Regions from separate parts of the Homo sapiens genome. Here region 2 is linked to region 1. The links are contacts of gene promoters, found by promoter capture Hi-C in blood cells and fetal thymus (Javierre and others, 2016). All regions are on one chromosome and are shown on one strand. Each heading gives the region's core, a stretch centred on a gene start or on the middle of the fragment in contact. The rest is flanking DNA. Distances are from core to core; before and after follow the strand shown.

Region 1 (7,107 bases), core at 3,244-5,743:
CCCCTGACCTCAGGTGATCCACCCACCTCGGCCTCCCAAAGGGTTGGGATTACAGAAAGTGTTAGGATTACAGACATGAGCCATCGCGCCCAACCAAAACTTTATATGTTATTTTCTTATTTCATCTCTCCCAGTTGATTAATTAAAAAGTGTTACTTAAGAATCTACTTTGGCTGGGCGTGGTGCTCATGCCTATAACCCAATGCTTTAGAAGGCCAAGGCAGGAGGATGGCTTGAGGCCAGGAGTTCTAGACTAGCCGGAGCAACAAGGCAAAACCACCCCCTCATCCCCACACACTGCCCTATCTCTACAAATTTGCTTTGCAAATTGGGAAAACAGCATTTCATAGGATTTCTGTGAGGATTAGACAGGTTAAACATGTAAAATGTGTAAGACTGCATTTTGCCTATATACATAAAAAACTGGCCAGACGCAGCAGCTCACACCTGTAATCCCATCACTTTGGGAGGCCAAGGCAGGTGGATTACCTGAGATGGGGAGTTGGAGACCAGCCTGACCAACATGGTGAAAACCCATCTCTACTAAAAATATAATTAGCAGAGCGTGGTGGCACATGCCTGTAATCCCAGCTACTTGGGAGGCTGAGGCAGGAGAATTGTTTGAACCTGGGAGGCAGAGGTTGCAGTGAACCGAGATCATGCCTCTGCACTCCAGTCTCGGCGACAGAGTAAGACTCCGTCTCAAAAAAAAAAAAAAACAGTTAACATATATTAATTTTGGTTTTTATATTTTAGAACCATAGGCTTTTTTTTTTTTCAAGTCTCAAACATTTTCATAAGCAGCGTGCTATGGTGCTAGTGACTAAAACATTTCTGCCTACAGGGACTGGAAGTAGGAAAACAAGGAGGCAGTGCCAGTGGCGACCAGAAATTTGCACACCAGGTACAAAGGGTATTTGTCCTCAGCTCCAGCAGAGTTTCTTTTTTTTCTCTGCAACCATGTAAGGTTCTTCTAATGCAAAAGAAAAAAAAATCTGTCACATCTAAGGACCTTGAAAAGTTTTGTTTCCCTTGAGGAATTTGATATGCTTTTTCCTTATCATTCAGAAACATCAGTGTATAGTATGTTTTCCCAGTCTGCATTGCGCCCAGTAAGTTTCAAGCCAAAATTTCTGTTTAATTTTGGAACAATAGAAACTCCTGATCGGCACATTAAAAATTTTCTTTGATCTTGATCTTCCATACCCGTTGCTGCCTTTTATTTAATTTTACATTTCCTCTTGATTATATATCTTCCAAGCTGATTAAAATTTTCTACTAGCCAAAAGGAGTTTGAGCGAACAAAAATATTTACAGAGCCATCAGCCATCTATGAGAATACCTTTTTCTTGGCATTCCACACACTGCCAGGTGTTATTTGAAAAGTCTTTACTGATGTAATAAACCAGAAATGGTTTCTCATTGGGGTTTTATTTTGTATTTCTAAGATTACAGGTGAGAGTGAACATTTTCCCATATTTGTTAACCAGGTTTAAAACTGTTTGATTGGGACGTGGCTTATACAGGGACAAATGCAGCTAAGCCGACTGAAAGACAAATGAAACCCAGGAATATCTGGTTCTTACATTTTAGCTTTGACTCCGCCCCTGGGTCCCCTCACCTACCCGGACCCCAAGCAAGCCCTTTGTGTGTGTCAACCATCAGTGAATGGGATCTCAATCTGAAAAGCTGGCAGAATACCGTCTTGCCCCCAAATATGTGTATTATGCGTATATCCAGTGTCTGATTGCAATGTTTATGGGAAAAAGTTCCTGAATCCTAACCAAGACTGAGGCACTGGCCGTCCCCGGGAGTCTTTCCGCAGGCGCGGCCTCTGACACTCGGTCTTCGATTGGCCCGCCTGGCCCCGCAGGAGTCGGGGTGACGCCGGCCAGCCCAGAGCGGACGATGAGAGCTAGGAGTGGCTGCTTCTGCCTTTCTCTCCCCCTACTTTTTTTTTTTTAGCCATAGCTATGGTTACCACGTTTCTCTCCGCCTCCCGCCACCTACCAAGAAAACGACTGACCATTGGCTGCCTTTCACCAAGGCGGTAAGTCATTGGTCTCTGGTGGGACCGGGCGCTGCCCCCTTCCCCTGTCTCCTGGGTCTCTGGAGGAGCCCAGGAAGGAGGCTCCGCTGGTTCCGCTGGGTCAGGCGCTGACGGGACCGGGCTGCGGCAATCGTTAGCGGGTCATGTCGGCCGCCCAGGGCTGGGACAGGAACCGCCGGAGGGGAGGAGGCGCCGCCGGCGCTGGTGGCGGAGGTAGCGGGGCCGGCGGGGGCAGTGGGGGCAGCGGGGGTCGGGGGACTGGCCAGCTCAACCGCTTCGTGCAACTCTCCGGGCGGCCGCACCTGCCAGGTGAGTCGTGGGACAGGGTCCTGACCGCTTGCGGGCGGGAAGGTGACTGCTACCTTTTCTTTTTCTCCCTGGCTTGCTTTTCCTTGGGAGGAGGAAAGGCAGGCCCCACGCATAGCAGAGGGACTGGGGATCAGAGAAAAGGGAAGGTGTCTTTGAGGTCAGGGAGGGAACAGGAGCACAGCGAAGAAAAGTATCTGTGCTCTGTTGAAAGCTCTGTGCTGAGAGTTGTGTTTTCTTTTCAAAGGAGAGGCCACTGTCTCATTGACATTTCCAAATGTTTCGGTTACTCGATTCCCAATCTCTTCCCCTTCCGCAGTTTGATCTTGTAAATGAAAGACATTGGCGCCTAGCTGTGGGAAATTATTTCAAAAAGGGTGCCAAGTTAAGGAGAGAAGAAGGAAACGCATTCCAAGGAGTGATTTTGTAAAAACTACACGGGGCGTGTGTGTAAGAGGCATTCTGAAACGGAAGAAAGGGGTGGGGGAGTGTTGGCTGGGGAGTGTATGGGAAAGAGAACCTAGAGGATTAGGGAAAACTAGTTGGATTATTAATATTTTGGAATGTTCAGAGACAGGATAATGGTGTCTAGGTTTTAAGGGGAGAAAGTGAAGATCAAAAATATACTTAGTGACACAATTATGCTGTGTTTACAATATAAAAACAACTGAGAATTGGAAAAATGTACCCAATACAATTATTTGACATTTTGGTCTACAGTGCCCTAGCCTTGAGTTCAGATGCTTTTGAAAACAAAATAAAATCAAGTGGATATGTATGTGTAGACAATTTTAAAGAGGTATGTTTGTAATTGAATATTCAATCTAGTAGAAGGAAGGTAGGGAATTAAATAATGCAGAGAACGTCAAATATCCCACTGGGCAAGCTTATTTTTACTATGAAAAGAACTATCAGGAATGATGTGTTAATTATTCATCGTGTTTTTTGTGAATAATATTGATTATATTAGTGATATATTTGTTTAGCTGATGAGTTTTGAGAACATGATGAATTGGTTTTTATGAATTGTGCTTAAGACTGTACCTTATACTTCTAGTCAAAAATTATTATTTGATTAAATTGAAGATGACAAAGGGAATTTAGCACATTTAATGAGACAATTGCTTATGTTCGTGATGAGGTTGTTGATGTGTGCTAGAAATGTACATTACCCCATTTATATGCATTAAATCGAGGCATTTGTAAGTAGTCATATAATATACCAGAAGTTGGGTTTGAGACGTTAATATCAGACTGGGCATCCTAGAATTGCTAAATATACGATCTTTAACATGAAAAAGAAAAAAGGAGCAATCTTTTTTCTTACTCCCAATTAATAATAAAAACTTAGATTTTTGTGTATTGGCAGCTTAGAAGATGAATCTCTTAGCAAACACTGTCACCAGTTTGCCCTCTACTACCGCAATCTTTAGGTCTTTGATCACGGATTAATTATACCATGGGCTTCAAGTAGGCATTCCTAGGTTCCTAGAACCTGCTTGGTGCACTTCCTCACTTCAACCACGTGATGGCAGTGGAAGCCATGATTTCTGCTAAGGGGCTTCAGTGTAGAGCTATTTCTGCATTCCCTTAGCACACAAGACCAAGAACAGCCATTTATCCGGAGGTAAAGATAAACGTGTCTAAACTGTGAAAATTTGTAAAGCGGGGTCATCAGTCTCTTTTTTCTGCTTCCCTTTTCTCTTGACTGACACTTCATTGCTCCTTTACTCATTCTCAAAATTGGGACACATCTGATACCTCAATGTATTATGTAGTTTGAAATTCTTTCATACCAATTCTTTATTCTGCTAGGTATTGCATTTTAAGCCTCTCCCTTTTCTTGCATTTTGATAGATTTTAAAAGATTTTAGGTGATGGGGAGGAATAGGATGTCTAGGCTTGGTTGACGGGCCTTGGAGATAAAACCTTTTATTTTAAATTTATTTATTTATTTATTTATTTATTGAGATGGAGTCTCACTCTGTCCTCCAGGCTGGAGTGCAGTGTCGCGATCTCGGCTCACTGCAACTCCACTTCCTAGGCTCAAGCAATTCTCCTGCCTCAGCCTCCTGAGTAGCTGAAATTACAGGCGCCCACCACCACGCCAGGCTAGTTTTTGTATTTTTAGTAGAGACGGGATTTTATCATGTTGGCCAGGCTGGTCTTGAACTCCTGACCTCAGGTGATTTGCCTGTCTCAGCCTCCCAAAGTGCTGGGATTACAGGCGTGAGCCACCTCGCCCAGCCAAATTTTTTATTTTTTTGAGTGTACTATAGCGGCTGGTCGTGGTGGCTCACATCTGTAACCCCAGCACTTTGAAAGTCCAAGGTGGGAGGATCACTTGAGCCTAGGAGTTCAAGGCCAGCCTGGGCAACAAAGCAAGACCACATCTCAAGTTAAAAATTAAAAAACAACAACAACAACAACAAAAAACTATAGTATAGCTCACTGTCTCTCTCTTTTGACCTCTAAATCCTATTTGTCTTTTTTTTTTTTTTTTTTTTGAGACAGAGCCTCACTCTGTGGCCCAGGCTGGAGTGCAGTGGCACAGTCTTGGCTTACTGTAACCTTTGCCTCCCGAACTCTAGCAATTCTCCTGTCTCAGTCTGCCAAGTAGCTGGATTAGAGGTGCGGGCCACCACGTCCGGCTAATTTTTTGTATTTTTGGTAGAGATGGGTTTTTGCCATGTTGGCCAGGCTGGGCTCGAACTCCTGGCCTCAAGTGATCCTTCCGCCTCAGCCTCCCGAAGTGCTGGGATTACAGGCGTGAGTCACAGCGCCCAGCCAGCCCCATGTTCCATTTTTCATCCTTCTCTACCAAGACTTCCAGTTACTGATACTTAGAACCTTTTCTTACTTTTTACATCTCAACCCTCCATCCAGCCCCCAATGAAACCAAACAAAACAACCTGGTCTTCCTGGAGTGTTCTCATTCTCTTTCAGTGATAGCTTCTTTATCCATCCAGTTATGCAAACTTGAAACTTGGTCATCCTCCTCAATATTTTCTTCTCCGTTGCACTTCAGGTGTAATCATTTACCAAGTCCGTTTCTTTTACTCCTGCCATAACTCCAATCCACGGTGCCACCATCCCTCACTTAGGTCTCCTGCAGGAGCTTTTTAAGCAGTATTCGTGCTTCTACTCTTGCCCTTCAATTCATATAGCACACCAGTCTTTTTGCAAGCCCAAATACATTCTCATCCCTGCTCACAACCTTTTTATTGCTCTTAGGATAAGGCAAAAATCTTTAACATGGCCTCAAAGGCACTGTGTCGTCTGACTCCTCTCTAACTCTACAGTTAATCCTGTGTTACGTTCTCTTGGTCATTGATCTTTTTCTGCCCCCTTGGATGTATCATGCTTCCTCCTGCCCCAGGTCCATTGCACAAGCTTTTCCGTCATCCAAGAACCTTCTTACTCCTCATTCCATTCTCTTGTTTTAACTTCTCTTCCATTAGATCTCAGTTTGATCAAAATGTTTTTTTACATGGAAGCCTTCCGTGACTTTCTGACTTGGTCTCTTCTCTCTGTAACACTCATAGCATCATGTGGCTCTCCTTGGGCATACTTTACCATTTGTGTGTGATTCCTTGATATGCATGATTTGATACTCTTGAGATGTATGTGCGTATACATATACACACATATGCGTATATATATGCCATATACATATACATATATTTTTAAAATTCTAAATTAACGCATTGGCATTATATATAACACGTTAGTGTCTAGTGAGTTTGGTTAGTGTGGTTCAATCCTCTAGCCACATTGACTCTGGATAGATGGTTAAAATCAAGGTTCTCTCTCTTTTTTTTTTTTTTTTTCTGAGATGGAGTCTTGCTCTGTCACCCAGGCTAGAGTGCAGTGGCGCAATGTCACTGCAACCTCTGCCTCCCAGGTTCAAGCAGTTCTCCTGCCTCAGCCTCCTGAGTAGTTGGGATTATAGGTGCGCGCCACTGTGCTACTTTTTGTATTTTTAGTAGAGACGGGGTTTCATCATGTTGGCCAGGCTGGTCTCGAACTCCTGATCTTGTGATCCACCCACCTTGGCCTCCTAAAGTGTTGGGATTACAGGCGTGAGCCACCGTGCCTGGCCAAAATCAGGTTCTTTAATGTAAAGTAGTGGATTAGACTCTGCATCCATTGCGACAGCACAAACAATAGTTTGTGAAACCTTTTTTTAAGCACTTGCCTTTCTCCTGTTTTCTGAAGTTCACTAGTGATTATGTGTTTGCCTCATAGGCCAAGAAATTAATAGCTTTTTACTCCTGGATTTTTACTAACTCATAATTTCTATACACCCAGTAACGAACAGGGAATTGTGCTTTTTGTAGAATAAGTATGCAGAGAGCTCAGGAGCGCGGGGTTCATGGGGCAATGGAATTCAGGTAGCTGTTGTGATTTAACTGTGTGAGTTTGATTAAATACCATGATTAGCTGGGAAAACAGTTAAACATTGTTGCTAACATGGGAACTGGAAAACTGACAAAGAAAAAGAAGGAAAAATGTAACAGTTGGTAAAGCTGGGTAAAAATAATACTGTAGTCTTAACTTAAAAATTTTAAGTAAGTAATGTGTATAAAATCCAAATGATACAAAAAAGTATATGGTAAAAGGCAAGTTTTTCTTCTTCCTTTGACCCCAGCTAATTGACTGCCTTCCCTAGAAGCAACCAATGATACATTTCCTGTATATTTTTTCCAGGTTCAGGGGGGACGGGAGGGACTTTGTGGAGATGGTAGCAT
Region 2 (6,412 bases), core at 2,623-5,122, 1.3 Mb after region 1:
TAACAGGAATTAGTTAAAATTAAAGACTAATTCAGAATTTTCAAGTGATAGTAAACAACTGCTATCTCAAACACATACGATATAAAATGAAACCACTGGTGCCTAACTGCCAGTTCTTTCACTCAAACCTCTGCTGTGAGACAGAGGTGAAAAAAACTTGACCCAAACCCCTGGTTCTGAGGCAGAGGCAGAAAAACCATGACCTGCACCTCTGCTGTAAGACAGAGAGGGAAAAAAGGCAGTTCCCTGCAGAGCTCTATACCCGAATCTTCTGTCCAAAGACAGAGACCGAAGCCCTCACACTTAAAGAAAGGGTTTGAAAAACAGCCCAAATAAAGTCTAGACCTTCAACCCAAGAGTAGGAGGTCCAAATTCCGGAGAACTCATCTGAAACACCTGATGAGACTTCTGAAGGAAGAGAGTTCACACTGGTACCAAGCGCTGCTTTCAGAGAGAAACACCACCAGCTGGTTGGGGGGAGTCACTGTGAATCCTGCTGACTTACTCCAGATGTTTTACCTAAAAGGAAGAAGCGGAGGCAAAATTAATATAAGTTGGGAGTTTATTTGGGCCAAGCTTGATGACTGCAACCTGGGAACATAGATTCAGGTTGCCTTGAATATACACTCTGAGTAGCAGCAGTTACAAGTGGATTTTTAAAGGGAAAGATGAGGCAGTGCCTGAGTTATTTACCAAGAATTTACATTAAAATAAATCAAGCTACTGATTGGCTATACATTATGAAACTATAGGATGAGGGTTATAATGTCTGGTGCAGCATTAATTAGTAGGTTAATGTTTAGCTTCTGTGGCAATAGTAAGCAGTTTCAAGAGACAAATACACAGTTCAAAAGTGGGGGAGAAGGACAGGATTGCTGTTTCACTTTAATGCCTCTCTGGGCCTCATAATTTAAAAGGATTTGCATTCCTCAGATAAAGTTCTTTTCTTAACATTTAAACAAATTTTCGTCTTGGTATCATAATATAGCTGTCTGTATGTTAACATAGGAATGCTTTAAATTATTTTACCATTTATAAAATTTGTGATGCAGGAAAGCCATGCTATCCTGGGTCTTTACCTTCTGAGTAGCAATTATACCTCAGGGATACACGTTTGTAGTCTGAGAAGTGCTGGCATTTTTTTTTTCCTTTGCAACTCAGAAGTCTCTAATTAAAGTTCTCTTTTAGCATTATTCATTCACTCTTTGATAAATATTTACTGAACATCTTTATTTGCTAGACACATCAACAGGACTGAGGATACAACTGTGAACAAGATATGTATGACTCTTATCTTCATGGGAGCTATCATTTAGAGAGAAAGAAAGGGGAAAAAAGAGAAAATTAAAATATATTGTGATGTGTGCTAAGATAAAGAGGGAAACTTAGAGTGCTAAGAGAAATGTAAAAAATGTTACCTATCCTGTGTTAGCTTGCATAGGAAAAAAAAAATGAAGAAAACTGTCACCTAATCCCAGAGCAGGTGTTGAAGAAAGATTTTCGGCCAGACGCAGTGGCTCATACCTGTAATCCCAGCACTTTGGGAGGCCAGGCCGAGGCAGGAGGATCGCTTGAGCCCAGGAGTTCAAGACCAGCCTGGGCAACAGAGTGAAACCCTGTGTCTACAAAAAAATTTAAAAAGTAGCTTGGTGTGGTGATGTCTGCCTGTGGTCCCACCTACATGGGAGGCTGAGGCAGCATGATCCTTTAAACCCAGGAGGTCAAGGCTGCAGTGAGTCATGTTCATGTGACTGCACTCCATCCTGGGTGACAGAGTCAGAGTGAGATTCTGTCTCAAAAAAAAAAAACCAAAAAAATTTCCAGGACCAAACAGTCTACAGGATGAGCTGGAGTTAGCCAGGTAAAGAATGGGAAAGAATATTCCATGCCTGGCTTAGAGCAAGCTCCGGAGGCTAGAGAGAACAAGGACTCTATGGGAACAAATTCAGTGTGCTAGTTAGTGGGCAGATGTCAAAAGCGCAAAGGAGAAAAGTGGGGGGGGGGTGGTGGTGAGGAAGCTGGAGAGAAAAATCAAGGCAGGTTATGAAGGGCCTCTGTTAAACAGTTTAGAAGGGTATTGAAAGTCACCAAAAGGATTTAAGCTTAAGAAGAACTAATTAACATGTGTTTTTAAAAAAGATTGCTCAGGAACTATGTCTGGAAAAGAACAAGGACTTGACTTACATTAAGGTAAGAAGTGGAATTATAAAATCTGGGGCCCAAAGGAATTGGAGTGAGTTAATTCCTCCCCTTTAAAGTGTCTATTTTCTTCAAAGATAACCACTATATCATCTCTGGGGCTAACATTCTCTGGCCCTTTCCCACTGTCTCTGGCAGCTCCCGACCCAAGTCACTACAGTTACAGCATTCCCTTAAGGAACACATGCTTTTCCAACCTGCTGCAACACAGAAAGCACATGTAATTTTTTATTTTATTGTATTTTATTTGTTTTTCTGAGACAGAATTTCACTCTGTTGCCCAGGCTGGAGTGCAGTGGTGTGATCTTGGCTCACTGCAACCTCTGCCTCCTGGGTTCAAGTGATTCTTGTGCCTCGGCCTCCCAAGTAGCTGAGATTATAGGTGTATGTCACCACACGCAGCTAACTTTTGTATTTTTAGTAGAGACGGGGTTTCACCATGTTGGCCACGCTGGTTTCGAACTCCTGACCTCAGGTGATCCACCCACCTCAGCCTCCCAACGTGCTGGGATTACAGGTGTGAGCCACCGTGCCGGGCCTGGCCTTTCTATCTGGCTTTTTTGATTTGATATCCTAGTAGAGCCCACTATTAAAATTTCCATCTATAGAAACAGGAAGTCAGGAAAGGACTGGAGGGAATTTCGGCAGGTTAATGATTACAACGGGAAGAGAATACAATTATTGAGGTGTTTTGACTCACTTGGTCATTTCCTGAGAAACTCTTTGCTTGAATTTTTCCACTCTTCAGGTGAAGATGATGACACTGTCCAGGCTTTCAGGAGTCCAACCTCTTAGACAATAAGCGACATACTCTTTGGTAACTGCAGTGGCTAAGCCAAGGAATAAATATGCATAACTACAACAAACAGGTACTTGATGAGAACGTTATCTAGAGCTGCCAGATAATTTAGACCAAGTGCACCTTTTGTTGTAAGAAGCTGGTATGATGTCCACATAGTTTTCAGGGCTGCTGTTCCCTCTAAGAAGAAGGAATAGTCTTTTTCCTGAACTACTCTCTCTCTGAACTTTTAGGCTACAATTATGTCAGTTCAAAGTGGGCAGATTTGCCAACTGAAAAAATGATGACACGCAGCTTCCCAACTCTGTAAGGACTTTTCAGGTCTGTGGGTGAACGTCATTCCCGAGCAAACCAATGCCACAAGATTAGTAGGATGCGGCTCACAAGAAATGTTTACAATGAAGGGCATCACAGACTGCAAACCAAACAGGGTAGGAGGACACGGGACCATTTCCTTTTCCTGTCTCCATCTGACTCTGGAAGGCGGGGACAAGACATTTAAAACCAGGACCACTCCAGGAGGACAGCACATTAGCTACTGCCCTCCAGCTCCCTTCAGTGTTGTTTCCGTAAAGGACTTATAAACTGGCGAGGGCGGTGGCTTCCAAAAGCGCACAGGCGTCCCTTTTCCAACTTGGTCTTCTTATTTTCCCTTCCTGCTCCATAACTACAACGTGTTTCTGTTCGTAATCATCTCGGCTTTTCCTTACCTCTGCTTGTAAGAAAAGTCCTTTGCGCCATTCCCCTCCAAGCCCCAGGGAAGGGCCTGGAAAGCGCTTACACCTCAGACCCAGTGTCGGTCAGCCGTCAAGGAGCGAGCGACGTGGGAAACCCTGAGATAGGACATTGGCCCGGCGCTGGGCTCGGGTAACGATGCGGGGCGGGGAGCGCGGGCGGCCGGGGAGGGCGGCGGCCCCTTTAAGAGCAGGCCACGCCCCCTCCCCTCCTCCCGTTCGCTGCCAGCGGTCGGTGGCGGCCGCTACGGTGCTGACAAGATGGCGGCTGGCGGAGCTGTCGCTGCGGCGCCCGAGTGCCGGCTTCTCCCCTACGCGCTACACAAGTGGAGCTCCTTTTCCTCCACCTACCTTCCCGAGTAAGTGCCGGGCCTTGAGCTCGTGCTGCCCCACCCTTCCGCGTCAGCACGGTTGGGCCAGGGGTGCAATGGAGGGCAGCCGAGCCGAGAGGCCCAGGCGGGGCCTGCTGAGGGGGACGTGCGGCCTCCGGAGTCTTAGTTCAGCTGCTGAGAGCGTTGCTCGGCCTCGCTCGGGAAGGGGTTAGGGTCCGGAGAGCGAGCCCAGGGAGAAGGGGCGAGGTGTGTGGCGGATCCGGGGCGCGCACAGGAGAACCGGAAGCCCAGCGGTTCTGCGCTTGGGATTTGGGGGTTGAGGTTGAGGAGGGCTTGGGGGGCGGACGGCTCTGGGGCAGGAATCGGAGTTGGCGGGGCCCTGCCCGCGGGCAAACTACCCCGAATGTCTGAGGTCGTCCGAGGTGGTCGGCGTCGGGGGACAGTTCAGTCGATTGCTGCCGGGACAAAGTGTAAAGCCGAGGAGTGTCTATTCCAGAGTGGGGTCATTAAAAGTGATTAGCTCTAGAGTAGTGTTAAAAGTCACGGAAGGCTGAAAAGTTGTGGAATCCATCTGAATCCTAGCAGGCGGGGAGAACTTGTAGGATTGGCAGACGTTGTCTTTAATGCCTGGAAGTTCTGAAAAAGATAGGGAGTGGGAAGGAGGGACGTTACCGAAGAATTTCAGTATTACGGCTCATTAGAAGATGGGTTTGTATGGACACAGACACGTTTCCCAGTCCGGAAACTCAAACATAGAAACATCTGGCTTTAATGAATTTGATTTTCAACACCGGCTTTGTCTTGATCCCTGATTTAGGTGTTAAAAAAATTCAGTTGCATTGTTAGGTTTTTGTTGGTGGTGTTTTTTTCTCTAGCAAATTCCTTCTGAAATGCTGAAAATACTCTTACATAGTATCTTATTTATCTTTGGCTTATCTTTGAAAGGAGGAGCAGATCTAACTCCAATTTTACATGCTAGTGGAGGAACTGGCTTAGTAAAGGGTTAAGATCTGTGCAGATCCTGAAGAAAAGTGCTAGTTGTCCCTCTAACCATCTCACAGGACCGAAACGATTTTATGAACGAAACAAATTAATGAATAATATATTTTACTGAGTATTTTACTAAACAAAAAAGTGACTAGATCTGTGAAGCATACTCAAGTAAGTTTTCCATCTGTATTTGAGAAATTCTTCACATTTATCCAAATTTGATTTCACTGGTTATATCAATGAAGAATCTCAAAATGGAGCTGCAACTGGAAGAATCTGTCATGACTGCCAGCCTCCCATTTTATTCACCAGGTCAAGGGTTGGCATTCAGTAGGATCTGGCCCAATGAAGGGTGCCAAGTGACCTGTGGTTTGATCTGGCCTGCGTAGCCTATTCATGGCCATATCCCTGATTGATGCTGAAACCCAACTTTGAATTTGAGAGTGAGCCAGATAAACAGTCCAGCCATGTAGTTGGAGTTGAAATGTGGCCCTATGTACTTGACCTCTGATATTCTGGGCTATCTTGTTCTTGGATCTGAAGTTATTCAGCTTTTTTCTATACCCAGGCTAGGATTATGGACAGTTGGGAATTGGTGTGGCATTGTTTGATCTAACTGTAGAGACATTTTTCTGGTCTTGAATTAGCGTATTTCCAGGACGTCACTCCTTAAATTTTTGATGTAGGCCTGAGGCTTGGATAACACAAGTACCATCCGCGTTATCTGTTGTATAGACATTTTAAGAAAGTACATTTCAAGCAGGAAATGATTTAGTGGGATGGCAACTTTAATCTTTTGTGTCTTGTTACTCTGGCCCCTGGTTTGCAGTGGGCAGAACACTAGTTTTGGAGTTAGAAAGCAACAATTTGAGATTGGAGAAATACATTGCTGCAATTTTCTCAAGTACATACATAAAATAGTATTTAATACATACGTAACTTTCATACACTTCCACTTACTATATCTTGTTTAATCCTTATGACATTCTATTGACAAATGCAGTATAATTTGTATTTAAAGTAAAGTATTAGAAGAGTAATCTAAGCTTTTTTCTTTGAAGGAGTATAGTTGAGTATTATGGAGCTGGAGTTGGAGAATATTGTGTCTGCTGGGTTGGTGTGTGCCATGCCTAAATTATAAAACTCTTGGCTCTGAACTTCTATAAGCAAGCAAGGATATTACTTCTCTGTGTGACAGAAGATGTAGGAAAGGGGTTGACTTTACTTACCTTTGCCCTAAAATCCCCTCTAGCAGCAATTGTTGTATCTTTACTGGCAGTGGAAACCATATTAAGGTACTTCTTAAACAGGTCTCATTTTAGGTTAAAGACATTTGTTGAAATTGTCCACAAAGTGGC

The links. Contacts are between HindIII fragments. The CHiCAGO score rates a contact against its expected background, and 5 or more counts as called.
Region 2: the fragment with the promoter of MKLN1-AS here is called in contact with a fragment that was not itself captured in region 1 in 2 of 17 cell types (fetal thymus and non-activated CD4 T cells); the score reaches 6.0 in fetal thymus.

The regions. Positions count from the first base shown.
Region 1 is chr7:130,068,451-130,075,557 of GRCh38, forward strand. It overlaps KLHDC10 (kelch domain containing 10), which reads left to right and starts at 2,084. Exons shown (of 10, transcript NM_014997.4): 1 at 2,084-2,359. The coding sequence starts at 2,194. RefSeq lists enhancers at 1,599-1,798, 1,829-2,018 and a silencer at 2,119-2,288. The HindIII fragment of the contact is 2,507 bases long and covers 3,241-5,747 here.
Region 2 is chr7:131,323,907-131,330,318 of GRCh38, forward strand. MKLN1-AS (MKLN1 antisense RNA) reads right to left here and starts at 3,873. Exons shown (of 6, transcript NR_125364.1): 1 at 3,709-3,873; 2 at 2,900-3,029; 3 at 397-519. It overlaps MKLN1 (muskelin 1), which reads left to right and starts at 3,970. Exons shown (of 18, transcript NM_013255.5): 1 at 3,970-4,091. The coding sequence starts at 3,994. RefSeq lists enhancers at 3,735-4,311, 4,006-4,305, 4,312-4,888 and a silencer at 3,796-3,955. The HindIII fragment of the contact is 3,998 bases long and covers 2,101-6,098 here.